Regions from separate parts of the Homo sapiens genome. Here all the other regions are linked to region 1. The links are contacts of gene promoters, found by promoter capture Hi-C in blood cells and fetal thymus (Javierre and others, 2016). All regions are on one chromosome and are shown on one strand. Each heading gives the region's core, a stretch centred on a gene start or on the middle of the fragment in contact. The rest is flanking DNA. Distances are from core to core; before and after follow the strand shown.

Region 1 (2,573 bases), core at 36-2,535:
TCACAGTACCTACTGACCCAGCTATGACTGCTCCAAGAACCTTTCCTGCTTCCCTCTAATTCTAAGAAGAACCCTAGGAGGATCCTAGGGTATGAGAAGAGCCATGCAGGATCCAGCCATCCGGCTGGGTAACTTTTTAGTTTCTAAGCTTCCTTGGTATGTGGGGAAGAGAAAATTAGGAAGAGAATCAGATGCAGCTGAAAAGCCCTAACGACCTGAGATGAGAGGTCTCAGTTTCAGAGCCTGTTCCTCACAGCTGTCTGGCAAAAAGAGAACTTTTCCGAACTGAAAAGCAACACCAAGTATTGACTGCCAACCCACTCGGTCATCCAGGTTAACTGTGTATACAGACCTGTGCAGGTTATGTCACCAACGGTTACTCTGAAGGTGAAAGTGGGCACGTGTATTTGCACATCAGATCTTTCACATTCATAAACTGGGATGTTCTTGGTCTTCATGCCGTATTCGTGTAATACCTGAATCGGTGTTTTCCCTGGCTTAGCTGTTATCATCTTCCCCAAACTGCAAAAACCACAAAAAGGTGTGCTTTGCATGCCAAATTGGAGATTGAAGCAGAAGCGTAGAGGCCAGTTTTAACCGCCACCGACGGTGACGAGGGAGGCGCCGAGTTCCCCGGAGGCCAGGGCCAGAGCTGGCGAGGCTGGGGCGCACCTGTCTTCCGGCCCCGCTGCGGCAGTCACTCCGCAGGAGCAGGCGGGGTGAGCGAGGTCTTTAGAGAGAGCACTTGAATGCGGGTAGGAGAGATTCTCAACAGAACAGGGCTGGCAGCAGCGCCGCAGCCTCTCAGGGAAAACCTGACGATCCCTTCCCGGGCGCGCCGACCGAGCGTCACCTCCGCCCGCCCCGCGCGCCGCCAGGGACCACGAGAGGGGCGGGGCCCGGCCGCAGACCCCAACCCTCGCCGCCGAGAGGGCGGGGCCGAGCACCCACAGCCGCGGAGGCGTGGGCGCCGGGCACGGCTTTACCCAGAATGCCTCTGGAGGGCCGGCTCCCCGCGCCCCGGCCCTGCCGCCCAACGCTCCCGGCCCTGGGGCCCTGACTGCCCGCACGCTGACCTGAAGGTCCCACTGTCCTCGCGCTCCAGCGGCGGGGCCTCGGCGCGGTGCCTGCTCTGGGACATGGCGAGAAGGGACGGCTCAGCGGCTGGAGGAAGAGCGGTGCGGAGCGACGTGCTCGCTCCCCGGGTCGCTGGTCCCCGGGAGGAGCTCCAGCGCCGCCACCTCCTCCGACTCCCCCGCCTCCTGCTTGCGTTGCTCCAGCGAGGGGGCAGGCAGGGTGGGGGCGGAGCCTTGGTGCCGTAGCTCCGGCTACGCCCCCTCGCTGCTCCTCTGCGGGCCTCCGTCCCGGCCCAACTCCGCCCCTGTCCCTTCCAGGGTCCGCCCCCTTCCCGCCCGGCTCCGCCCCGCTCCCGCGTGGGCACAGGCATTGGGCTCCCGGGGGTTCTCCGCGCCCGCCCCTGCCGGCCCTGACCAGCCTGTAGTAACTGGCCCCTAGGCCGCAGTTCTTTGTCCTTAGCAGGAGGCCGTTTCTTGCCGGGAGAGAGGGATTAGAGGGATTGTCCGGCGTGGGTCTAGGGTCGTTGAGGCCTAAAGTTAAGCCTTTGTGGGGAGGACGGATTGGGGGCTGGGTCACTTTAAGAAAAAGATTCTAAAATTACGAAGGCAGAATTCCAGGGAGTCTCCCGGGCCTGGTCCTGAAGCTTGAGACCCCGGATATATACGCTCCAGGGGGCTGCGGTGCGCTCTTCGGGTCCCCGAGCCCTGTGTTTAGGAACACGCGGGGACGTCCAAACACCCGCTCCTCTCCCGCCGGGCGGGCTCCTTTGTCTTCTGGGCTTTCGTCGCGAGATGGAACGCTGGGTCAGTGCATCCCAGCAAAACACGTTAGGAGTAAACGAAGGCCTTTCCGGGGACCTGGGTAGTCGGTTGTAATGGCGTTTGCCTGGGATGCAGCACCTTTGGTGGGCCATTAGATGACGTGTCGCTTCTCCAGGGGCTTGCTAGGCACTAGCAGAAATGCTCCCCTGTGCTTACTCGGTGTTATGGAAGATTGCTTGCACAATGCTATTCGTACGAAAGGATATTATTAAAAGTGATTTATGGGCGGGCGCGGTGGCTCACGCCTGTAATCCCAGCACTTTAGGAGGCCGAGGCTGGCGGATCGCCTGAAGTAAGCAGTTCGAGACCAGCCTGGCCAACATGGTGAAACCCTGTCTCTACTAAAAATACAAAAATTAGCCGGGCGTGGTGGCATGCGCCTGTAATCCCAGCTACTCGGGAGGCTAAAGCAGGAGAATCGCTTGAACCCGGGAGGCAAATGTTGCAGTGAGCCGAGATCGCGCCACTGCACTCCAGCCTGGGCGACAGAGTCAGACTCCCTCTCAAAAAAAAAAAAAAAAAAAAAAGCGATTTGTTGTTTTGTTAGCATGTAAGCCCTGGATGCTTGAAACAAGTGAAAGATGTTCAGAATCTAATCAAATTATATCATCTGATGCTTTAATTAGAGCCTATTCTCTCTTCCTCTCCGTCTATATATGTATGTATATAGATTAC
Region 2 (2,573 bases), core at 33-2,532, 4.3 Mb after region 1:
TGAGCTTCACATACAAAATAGCTGTTCAATGTGTTACTTTGTTAAAAGCCTTCTAGGTGAACACTTGAACATGTTCTAAGTGAATAGAAAATACATCTTTCCTGTGTTCTGCAAATAAGACAATTTGATTCATTTGGATTGTTAATAGAATTAATGCTCATGTCACAAGCTGGTAGAATCATAACTCTCGTGTGAGTTATATAAACCTATAGCTGTTCCTGTGTGGTTTTTATTGTCTCTCATCTCCTAATATATCAGTAAGTGTTTTGTGTACCAATGGTTCAGAAAACATCGGAATTACAGATAGAGGAACTGAACAAAACTTGCAAGCTTACTAATCCATGAGTCTACCTAGAATGAGACTTCACTGATAGTTATATTGTATATGGGTTCACACTTTTTCAGATGTGTCACTATGCAGAAAAGCTTAAGAACTGTTAATAGTTCATATAGAACCCCAAATGGTAGTTCAAGATAAATTGCAGCCACAAAACTTCAGAGATAATTCATAAATAATTAACCTTGCTTGATGAGAGGAATGAGCAGGAGCATTGTTGTGATAGAGAAGGACCCTCTAGTGAAGCTTTCCCAGGCATTTTTCTGCTAAGCAGATGTTATCATTTCTGGCTCTCTAGAAAGTCAACAAGCAAATGCCTTCTAAGCTCTTCTATTATATGCAGCATAGGTTAAGTAGGTTTAATCAATTCTGACAGCTACTGTAAACTCTGAAAGAATAAAATAAGAGACCTACATAATACAGTAAGGATTGCGGGGATTAAATTTAATATAAGCCCTAAATAAGACATTACCTTGGAAAATCACTTTATTTGAAAAGATTGACTTTTTTTTAACAATTCAAAACATTAATACATACTTGCTAAAATTATAGATTTGAACATGTGATATCTAGCCAATAGTGCAGTTTATATTTTATCTGTAAAATGACCTGATGCAAATTACAAATTTTACTCACTTAAAAAATTTAACATTGTAAAAATGTGCTTTCACATTCAAGATAAAAAGGCGAGGGTAATCTGCTTTTGGTTAAAGGATTTCCATATGATTCCATGTTAAAATTAGTTAATATTTTAAAATAAAAATTTCAGAAATTACAGTAAGACATTAAAACATGCATGGTATTCTAAATACGTGCAACTAATTCAGGCTAATTAGAAACAGGTACAGGACTCAGTGTTCACCTACATTTCAAGTATAAGATAGACCTGTGGGGAAAAAGTTAATCTGTACCTTACAGGCAAAGTAATTACATTTTACTTTGCTAATAGAAGCTGTTAACTGGAGTTGTATGTATATTAACAGACAGTAGCTGTAGTTGTATAGTTTAGAAGTGGAAAGTTGCATTTTGAAATGTAATAATTCTATTCTGGGTCACTGTTAGGCACAACATCCCATTGAGCTGTGATGATACAGTATTTAAAATATTTTAACTTTATTCTTATTACTCAGCAATCAGTGGGAACTTGGCAAATATGAGAAGTGCTCGATGAAGACAAAGTACAGGTGTACCTCATTTTATTACACTTTGATTTATTGCACTTCATAGATAATGCACTTTTTTTTCCTTAACAAATTGAAGGTTTTTAGCAACCCTACATCAAGCGAGTCTATCAGCTGAACGTGTTTCCAATAGCATGTGCTCATTTCATGTCTCTTTCTCACATTTTGGTATCCAAACTTTTTCATTATTATTCTGTCTGTTACAGTGATCTACAGTCAGTGATCTTTGATGTTACTATTGTAATCATTTTGGAGTGTGCCCATAGGATGGCATACTTAATTTTTGTGTCTATTCTGACTGCTCCCTCTTCCTTCTCCCTTTTCTCTCCCACTTCTTGGGCCTCCCTACTCCCTGAGATACAACATTACTGAAATTAAGCCAATTAATAACTACAGTGACCTCTTAAGTGTTGAAGTGGAAGAGATGCACATCTCTCATTTTAAATCAGAAGCTAGAAATGATTAAGCTTAGTGAGGGAGGCATATCAAAACCCAAGACAGGCTAAAAGGTAGACCTCTTTTGCTAGTTAAATTATAAATGCAAAGGAAAAGTTCTTCATGGAAAGTAAACGTGCTACTCCAGTGAACACACTAATGATAACACAAAACAGCCATACTGCTAACATAGAGAATGTCTTAGTGGTCTGGGTAGATCAAATTATCTACAACATCCCCTTAGCGAAAGCCTAACCAGAGAAAGACCCTAATTCTTTTCAATTTTATGGAGGCTTAGAGAGATGAAGAAGCTGCAGAAAAAAGTTTGAAGCTAGAAAAGGTTGGTTCATGAGGTTTAAAGAAAACAGCCATCTCCATAACATCAAAATACAAGATGAAGCAGCAAGTCCCGACATAGAAGCTGCAGCAAGTTTTCCAGAAGATCTAGCTAAGATCATTGATGAAGGTGGCTATACTAAACAACAAATTCTCAATGTTAATGAGACAGCCTTCCATTGGAAGAAGATGCTATCTGGGACTTTTTTTTCATGCCTGCTAACACCATATCCATTCTGCAGCCCGTAAATCAAGGAGTAATTTCAACTTCAAGTCATATTATC
Region 3 (2,573 bases), core at 26-2,525, 4.2 Mb before region 1:
CAGCTACTCGGGAGGCTGAGGCTCGAGAACTGCTTGAACTCGGGAGGCGAAGGTTGCGGTGCGCCAAGATCACGCCACTGGGCTCTGCCTGAGCGACAAAGCTAGGCTCTGTCTTAAATAAATAAATAAATAAATAAAATATTTGTGGCACCAGGAATCAAAGATAAACTTAGAGTTTAGCTACCAATCTTCCATCCAGACTGCTCACAAAACACTTTATATCTTAACCTGATATATGGTTATATGAAAGAAAGCATTTGGAAGCAAGTACACAGAAGACAGTCAAAGAAAATTCCATTGTGGAACCACCAGCAGCCAAGTCACCCTTCACACCAAACCATTCCTCTATAATCTGGAATCTTATCTTTCCCATTCGCCCACAACCCCCATTTTTCACATAGATGAACACCCACCAGGTACTGGGGTCCTTCCACCAAGTCCCTCCCACCTTTGGCACTGAAGGTACGGCTCATCAGTCCTCATAAGCAACCTCCAAAATCTACATTATGGTTACTATTTCTAATGGTAAATTAATCGACGGAACCTTTTTATTTACAAGTCGAAACTTTCTCTGTCCCTTACTAGTTCTGTCTCCAAATCATGCGTGCAGAATTACTCCCACCCTTGGACTGCAAAGTGAAATCACAAAGACCGCTAAGCTCACGTCTCAGAAGCTGGGAACTAAAACTGTCCCAGTCTTCTGGCTGAGAGTTGTACCTCCTAGGACCACGCTGGGGCCCTGCCCTTGCAGTAGTATTCCAGCCTCTGATCCCTGACCCCGAGGGCCAGGAATTTCCCTTCTCAGCGTCCTGACACCTGTTCCTGGCCAACTCCCAGGCCTCCAAAGAACAGATACAGGAACAGCGCCTGTCGGGTCCTCTGGCCTACAGAGAGGTGGCCGGCAGCCCACCCAAAGTGGGCCCCACCCCCCATCCTCCTCTCCGGACTGGGCCACCGGGCGTCCTGGCGTCGGGAGAAGGCTTTCCCCAGGGCTTTCCCGCGTGAGGCGTAGGCCGATCTCCCGACGCGCGGCCTAGTCCGACAGCGCCTCATTCATCCACACATCCCCAAGCCACCCGCTGCCCTGGCCCCATCTTGGCCACTGGGCCCGGGCCCCGCGCCAGCCTCAGGGCAATGAGCCCAGGCGCCGAAGACCTGGCGGAGATCGCGCCCCCGGGCTCCCTGAGGGCCTCACCGTGCTCGGCCTGGGCGATGACACGGGGTCCCAGCGGCAGCGAGAGAAAGGTCCTGCCGGCAGCTGGAGGCGGGGAGGAAGGAGGAGAGAACGCAGGCCCGTCCCCTCCGCCGAGCGGCACGCACGACGGCGGCGACAGCGGCGGAACGGGCGGGCCGGGCGCCGAGCGGCACCTGCGCGCAGACCATGGGCCCCGCCCCTCCCCGCCTTGCCCGCGCGTCCCGCCCATTGGCCTAACCGGCCGGGGAGGCGGGAGTAGGGCGGGAGGAGCCCAGGGTGGGAGGAGCCGCGCGGCGGCAGGGAGCTGGAGAGGGGAAGGCGCTGGCTAGGCCGTTCCCGGGAGCTCTAGTCTTCCGCTTCGGCACGTGGGCTTCTCGGTTCTAGGTCTCCGCTTCCGTCTGGCTGCGCGGCCTGGGTTACCTGCTCACGTTCACTCGCGGGCCTACAGCCCCAAGCTTTCCCAGCTGGACTGCGGAGTGCCTTGGGCCCTGACTTCCCTCCGGGAGATCCGGGGCGTCTGAAGTCAGGCAAACAGCCACACCAGCCCCGAGGACCGCGTGGCCGCTAGCCCATCTCCCTTTTCTATAACTTTATTCGCTCAGTCTGTGCGGAGAGAAGCTGTTAACTAAAAGTTCTTGAAGGAAAAGGGGCTAAGGGAAACTTTGGTCTAGGGATTTCTTCCTCGCCTTATAGTTAAAGCGTCGCACACAGGTACTGGATCACAGAATGCGTTTAATTGAGCCAATTTCCCCCCTTTTCCTCTTGGTAGTTGAGAGCAGGGGCCTTTGAAATTTGGGAATTTCCAATCTGGATTTCGCCACTCATTGACTGTATGACCCTAGACAAATTAACTTCTCTGGACTTCAATTTCGTTCTGGATAAAATGAGGCTATTAAAACCACCTTATGAGGTTATTCGTGTGAGAATAAAATGAGACAATGCGTGTTGAGCTCATAACAACAGTACTCAGCACATACAGAAAAGGCTTGTGAGTAGTCGCTGTTGTTAATATTAGGATTTCATCCCATCTCACCCACATCATATCAATACCATGAGCGCCACTGGAGAAGGAATTCTTTCATTTAGGTCCTGGCCTTCAGATGTCATTCAGGTATTTGTTGTAATGAATATGATACCTGTCCAAAAATTGTGACACTAGAAGCTCCTTTTAAAGGGATTAGTTGCTATTAATATTAAAGGATGTAAATAGGTCGCCATCCCCATTTTACAAGTGAGGAAACAATATCAGAAAGGTTGATTAATTTGGATGAAGTCACACAACTAGTAAATGGCAGCAGCATATTTCAAACCACAATCTAACTGAAAATCTGGCCGTAATCCCAGCACTTTGGGAGGCCAAGATAGGGGGATCAGTTGA
Region 4 (2,573 bases), core at 52-2,551, 3.5 Mb after region 1:
CACTGTGGGGCAATAGAATGGTAATTCTTTACTTTTTACCTTACTCCCTCTTCTGCAACTGCCTCTTATTCTTTGAGAAAAAAAGGAAGATATACTTTTCATATGATTTGGAAAGCAGAGATTATGTGCTAACATCTCACTTGGTATAGGGAAAAACTGCAAGAATTTTTTAGAGAGGTGGACCTAGTTTCAAATCCATTACTACTATAAGAATATACTATTTCTGAAACTCAATTTCCTTGTCTGTAGAGCAAAAAAATTACTCCATAGTACCACAGTGGAGGATAAATAAAATAAGATGAATATGATACACAATTATAAAATAACTGTGTGACCTTAAGCAAATTACAAATGTCATGTCTCTGTTCCTCAGTTTGCCCACCCCATTGTGTTGTCAATGACATGTTATATCACTGTTTGAAGGACTTTACAGCAAAAAAAGGTATTCTTATAAATGCTCAGTAGATGTCAAGCTTAATTTTGTATGTGTCCAAAATTAAACCTTTACATTTTAGTTACATAAAAAGGTCCTTTAAGTGAGGGTAAGAGAACATTTAAACTGAAAGTTATATATACTAGGCCTGAAATTTTTAATGGCCTTATTTAAAATGAATATAAAGGTACTTAAGGAAGGTAGCAGTTGTAGGCTTTCTTTTCTTAGGAAATCAATACTCATAAAACTCAAGGTTGGAAATGAGAATTAAAAACCACAGTGAGTTTATTTTAAAACATGTAGTCTGTCATCTTTATTTTCCCTTTGGATTACATAGTGTTTATACCCTGAGGTCTATTTATGTTGCTGCAACTCTTTCACTGACTTTGAAGTGAACTTTGTATGGTGCTAGAATCAGAGCACTAGGGCTTAGAGATCATGTATTCCAACCCTCTCATTTAAAAAGAGTAAATTAAGGTAAGAGAGTAAAGCGAATTTCCCTGATATCTTTGTTTCCTCTGAGATGTAAAAATCTCTGTTGTTCTTAACCACCAGGCTAAGTTCAGTGACAGCAAGAGTCATCCTAGTTCAGCCCCTAACATGGCCCCTGATCCTCCCCTTAACCTAGACAGTGCCTGGCACTTAGCAGACACTCCACTTATAGTTCTGGAAAAAAAGCACTTATCTCTGAGCAAAGTCTTTTACTCTCATTAGAAACTCTCTGGCATTCCTGGTATGGCTTAGGAGACTAATCACTGATAATAAATAAATAAATAAATAAATAAATAAATAAATAAATAATAAATTCCTGCTGTTCTTCTCCCAAATACATGCCTCATGGAGTTGCCTGCAGGAGAAAGAGTTCCACAGCAAATCAATACCTGCAATTTAAAGGATTCTACTCTTGCCAGGTGTGATGGCTCATGCTTGTAATCCCAGCACTTTGGGAGGCTGGGGTAGGAGGATTGCTTGGGGCCAGGAATTTGAAACCATCCTGGTCAATATAGCAAGACCCCGTCTTTACAAAAAAATTAAAAATTTAGCTAGGCGTGGTGTTGCCCACCTGTAGTCCCAGCTACTCAGGTGGCTGAGGCATGAGGATTGCTTGAGGGATTGCTTGAGCCTGGGAGGTCAAGGCGGAAGTGAGCTGTGATCGCACCACTGTACTCCAGGCTGGGTGACAGGGTGAGAGGCTCTCTCAAAAACAAACAAACACACAAAAACGAGGATTCTATTCTTGTAACTTCAAACCAATAAAAATAAGGATTCTACTCTTATAACTTCTCACCAGCAGATTCATTTAAAACCATTATTTCTTCTGTCCAGAGCATCCTAATACATGCAACTGCTCTCATCCAACTGGCAAGCACACAGATTTACTAGCAAAGTTTAGTACCTGTTGGTCAGAAGACTGCCTATTTCTTCTGGGTATCTCTTCAATGTTCCAGGAAACAAATTTCATTTATTCTTATAAGTCTGACTGTCCCAGACAAAGTTACTGTATGTACAAAAATCTGTGTATTTCTTTTGGTGTGATTCAGATGCAAGCAGAAATGAATTTTATTCATATTGTTATCTTTAAGACTGTGTGGGTTGGAGAAGGATTCATAGACAACAAAACAGGAAAAGATTAAGTCAAACAAAACAACTTAGTGGTTTTGTAATTTTGGAGGCTTTTGTCTGAAGGGAGATAGCTAAAGCTTGACAAAGGCTTCCTATGTGTGAGTAGAAGAGACAGCTCTTTTCCCTCTTCATTGGGGCAAGCACCATAGTAATTAGATTTAAAGGACACCAATAGACTTTTTTATTAGAACCAGATAACTTTCTGGTGTTTCTCAAATGAGAGAAAGGCACCTCCATGGAATGTCTTTCATCCGTTTTCAAATTCTACCAAGCCCAGTTCTTCTGCAAACTTCACCTAATGTATGTGTGATCTACAGCTGTGGTTTACAAACTGAATTCAGGTGGCCAGGCAGGGACCCCTCCCCCCGCGCCCCACTACCCGCTAACCGCCTCCCGCCACACACACACACACACACACACACACACACACCCCGCGCGCGCGCACACACACACACCCCACCCCACCACCCCGACCTCCACATACATTCCCCCGACCCCCTCCAGCAGTGAAGTCTAA
Region 5 (2,573 bases), core at 74-2,573, 3.4 Mb after region 1:
TATTAAAACTAGCTAACTTTGTACTTATAGTTTACTTCTTGAACATGGAATTGTCAGATGGCACTGGAATTCTCAGGGAATAGAACTTTTAAAAGCATTCAGACTGCATAAATCTGTTTAATTACATGCTTTGGCAACTGGTACAAAAATGTTTGATAAAATACAGAGGAGATGAATCATGTTGCACGTAAATCTGACTACAGCAAAATGTACTTGTTTCTTATTCCACTTTGCTAGTTGTAAAATCAGGAATGTAGCCTTTAAACTTTTGTTGGTGTTTGCTTTCGAGCATATTTTTGCTTTCTCAATTTAGATTTTCTTAATATTTTGTTCAAATATTAGAGTTAGGGTAGTTTGTTTTGTTTTGTTGTGGAAAGTGATTCATATGCCAGTTTGCCTCCTCTAAAGACAGACAAGATATTGGCTACCATGATATTAATGCCTTGTTTTGATGAATCGACTGGAACCTTATTGAACACTCTTTATTACAGAACTCGTACCCTTTATTGGAAGTGTCATAGACCCTTCTGAAATATGATGACATATATGGAATAACTTCTGTTTAAAGATGCACAGAGGCAAATACACTGCTTGAAGTCCTTGGACCCCAGATTTACAATCTAGCTGTAAATCAATCTCCCAGTTTTCAGATAAGCCTTAGATATTAGATACTTCACTCAAAGTATGGATCAAGAAATTGTATTAATGTGCTATTGGTTCATTTAATTGTTAAATACTAAAATAGTCTATAATGTAAAAGCTTGAAATTTTGAATGTACATGTTCAAGACCTTTTGGGTGAGATCTGATAAAACTAGTATCTTTCAGGTTTCCACTTAGAAATGTGTTTGAGAAGTTGTTTTGTAACTTTTACTTAAGTCCTTTAAAGCCTCCAATCTGACTCTTTATTTAAATACAGTCCTAAGTACAGTATTGGCTTACTTTAGGTTTCTTAAAATAGGCTTAGCATTACAAATACATTTATAATGTTTTATTGTTTAAATTCAAGTGCATATTCAAAAGAATTTTAAAAATTAAGAACAAGAGAAGAATCACACTATAGTTTAATGACATATAGGATTTAAGATTGTATAAGAGATCCTATCAATTAGACAGTAAATAAGTGCATCTTTTTTGAGACAAATGCAGTAGGCAAATGTTGACATTCACCAGGGCACAGTCAATCCCTGACAATTTCAGAAGTTTTGTTGCCAATACTGATTTATGTGGGCAGATTCTGTAGTCTGCTGCTCCTTCTCTCATGGATTACCTTCTTGTTCCTACAGTTGCACCTATTCTACACAAGAGTGGCATTCATTTGTATCCAGGAAAGCTAGAACAAGTAGTCTTTTAATCTTGGCTATATTATCACAGATTCGACTTAGGATATGTTGCATCTGTATTTTTGTTTTAAATAACAACTCAAGTTCCTTCTCAGAGTTGGGCATCTATGTATTTTGTTTATTATGTACAAATGACCTGAAGACAGCATTTTACCCACTTGATAAGTTCTCAAATAGTCTTTGTTTCTTAGTGCCGTCCATATCCTGAATAAAGATACCGTGTTTTCTTTCCTTAAAGGGAGTCTTTATTTTGATAACCATTTGTGGGGGGACTAAGTAAAAACTGCTTGAATTAACATTTAAGAAATGGTAGAGATTTTGATAGAATTTGGAAGGGAGCAACTATAAAAGTAAGATATTTGTTTTCGAAGGAGGATTCCTGTTACTCTGCTTATCTACCATTTTCTGTTAGTGCATAGACCAGTAGAGACATCTGTGGACAGAGTAATACAATGTTTACATCCAAGAAAGTAGCCATCAGGGAAGGATGACTTTTTAAAGACATACATTAGAATTTTATTAAAATATATGCAAAAAATAGATTAAAGCTTTTATTAATATATTTATGGTAATTGCTTGTGATTCTTTTACGTTTCAAAAGCACTAAGTTTTAAAGAGCTGCCATTGTTAGTATACTTGTAGAAAGTTTTAACCTTTAATTGGCATTTCAGTAACATTTCCTTGAAACTGATATTTTCATGATTGATCCCATGTCTCGTGAATTTTTAACAGCTATAAATTGTTACTGAAGAAAGGTGTGCATCACAAAACAGACCCTCCAATATAAAACAATGTGTTTCTTACTATAACTTGGTTTCAGAGAATTAAAAGTGTTTATTTTTGTATTTGAAAAAAAGATATTTCTCTCATCTGTATTTGAACTACAAGAATGAAAAAATTTTAGCAATGGCTAATCTTAATGTTGATTCTCAAGTCAACTTTTTAGTAATTTTCAAAGTTAAATGAAGAATATATATATTTTTTAGCTTAAAAACAAAGCGAATCTCAAGCTTCTACATTTACATAAAAAGATAGTTGTTGGGGCAAGGGGGAGGCATTAGGTGATGCTCTGAAATGCTAGTGATAGATTAACAGATGAGGTTTAAGGAAACTATTGGGCCTCATTTCCAACTACTCTTCACTTTTTAATTTTATTAAGGTTAAGTTACCTATGACTGAAGATTTGTTTTCTTCTAATTCTGTTTTCTTTTTTGATGGAAGGGGTTGAGAA

The links. The method cuts DNA at HindIII sites, captures the fragments that hold promoters and counts their contacts. A CHiCAGO score of 5 or more calls a contact.
Region 2: a fragment that was not itself captured here is called in contact with the fragment with the promoter of PRKRA in region 1 in 1 of 17 cell types (total B cells); the score reaches 5.0 in total B cells.
Region 3: the fragment with the promoter of OLA1 here is called in contact with the fragment with the promoter of PRKRA in region 1 in 1 of 17 cell types (total CD4 T cells); the score reaches 5.4 in total CD4 T cells.
Region 4: a fragment that was not itself captured here is called in contact with the fragment with the promoter of PRKRA in region 1 in 1 of 17 cell types (fetal thymus); the score reaches 12.5 in fetal thymus.
Region 5: a contact is called between a fragment that was not itself captured here and the fragment with the promoter of PRKRA in region 1, in 3 of 17 cell types (fetal thymus, non-activated CD4 T cells and total CD4 T cells). The highest score is 9.2, in fetal thymus.

The regions. Positions count from the first base shown.
Region 1 is chr2:178,449,890-178,452,462 of GRCh38, forward strand. It overlaps PRKRA (protein activator of interferon induced protein kinase EIF2AK2), which reads right to left and starts at 1,286. Exons shown (of 8, transcript NM_003690.5): 1 at 1,077-1,286; 2 at 353-522. The coding sequence starts at 1,141. It overlaps PJVK (pejvakin), which reads left to right and starts at 1,489. Exons shown (of 7, transcript NM_001042702.5): 1 at 1,489-1,880. RefSeq lists an enhancer at 442-1,016 and a silencer at 779-1,558. The HindIII fragment of the contact is 1,572 bases long and covers 147-1,718 here.
Region 2 is chr2:182,723,385-182,725,957 of GRCh38, forward strand. The region is part of intron 5 of DNAJC10 (DnaJ heat shock protein family (Hsp40) member C10); the gene reads left to right. Among named protein-coding and RNA genes, the nearest start is that of DNAJC10, 8.4 kb to the left of the region's middle. The HindIII fragment of the contact is 1,402 bases long and covers 582-1,983 here.
Region 3 is chr2:174,247,257-174,249,829 of GRCh38, forward strand. OLA1 (Obg like ATPase 1) reads right to left here and starts at 1,276. Exons shown (of 11, transcript NM_013341.5): 1 at 1,196-1,276. RefSeq lists a silencer at 1,062-1,581. The HindIII fragment of the contact is 2,463 bases long and covers 1-1,648 here.
Region 4 is chr2:181,951,811-181,954,383 of GRCh38, forward strand. No RefSeq gene overlaps it. Among named protein-coding and RNA genes, the nearest start is that of PPP1R1C, 33 kb to the right of the region's middle. The HindIII fragment of the contact is 1,660 bases long and covers 472-2,131 here.
Region 5 is chr2:181,893,120-181,895,692 of GRCh38, forward strand. The region is part of intron 2 of ITPRID2 (ITPR interacting domain containing 2); the gene reads left to right. Among named protein-coding and RNA genes, the nearest start is that of ITPRID2, 2.7 kb to the left of the region's middle. The HindIII fragment of the contact is 1,130 bases long and covers 759-1,888 here.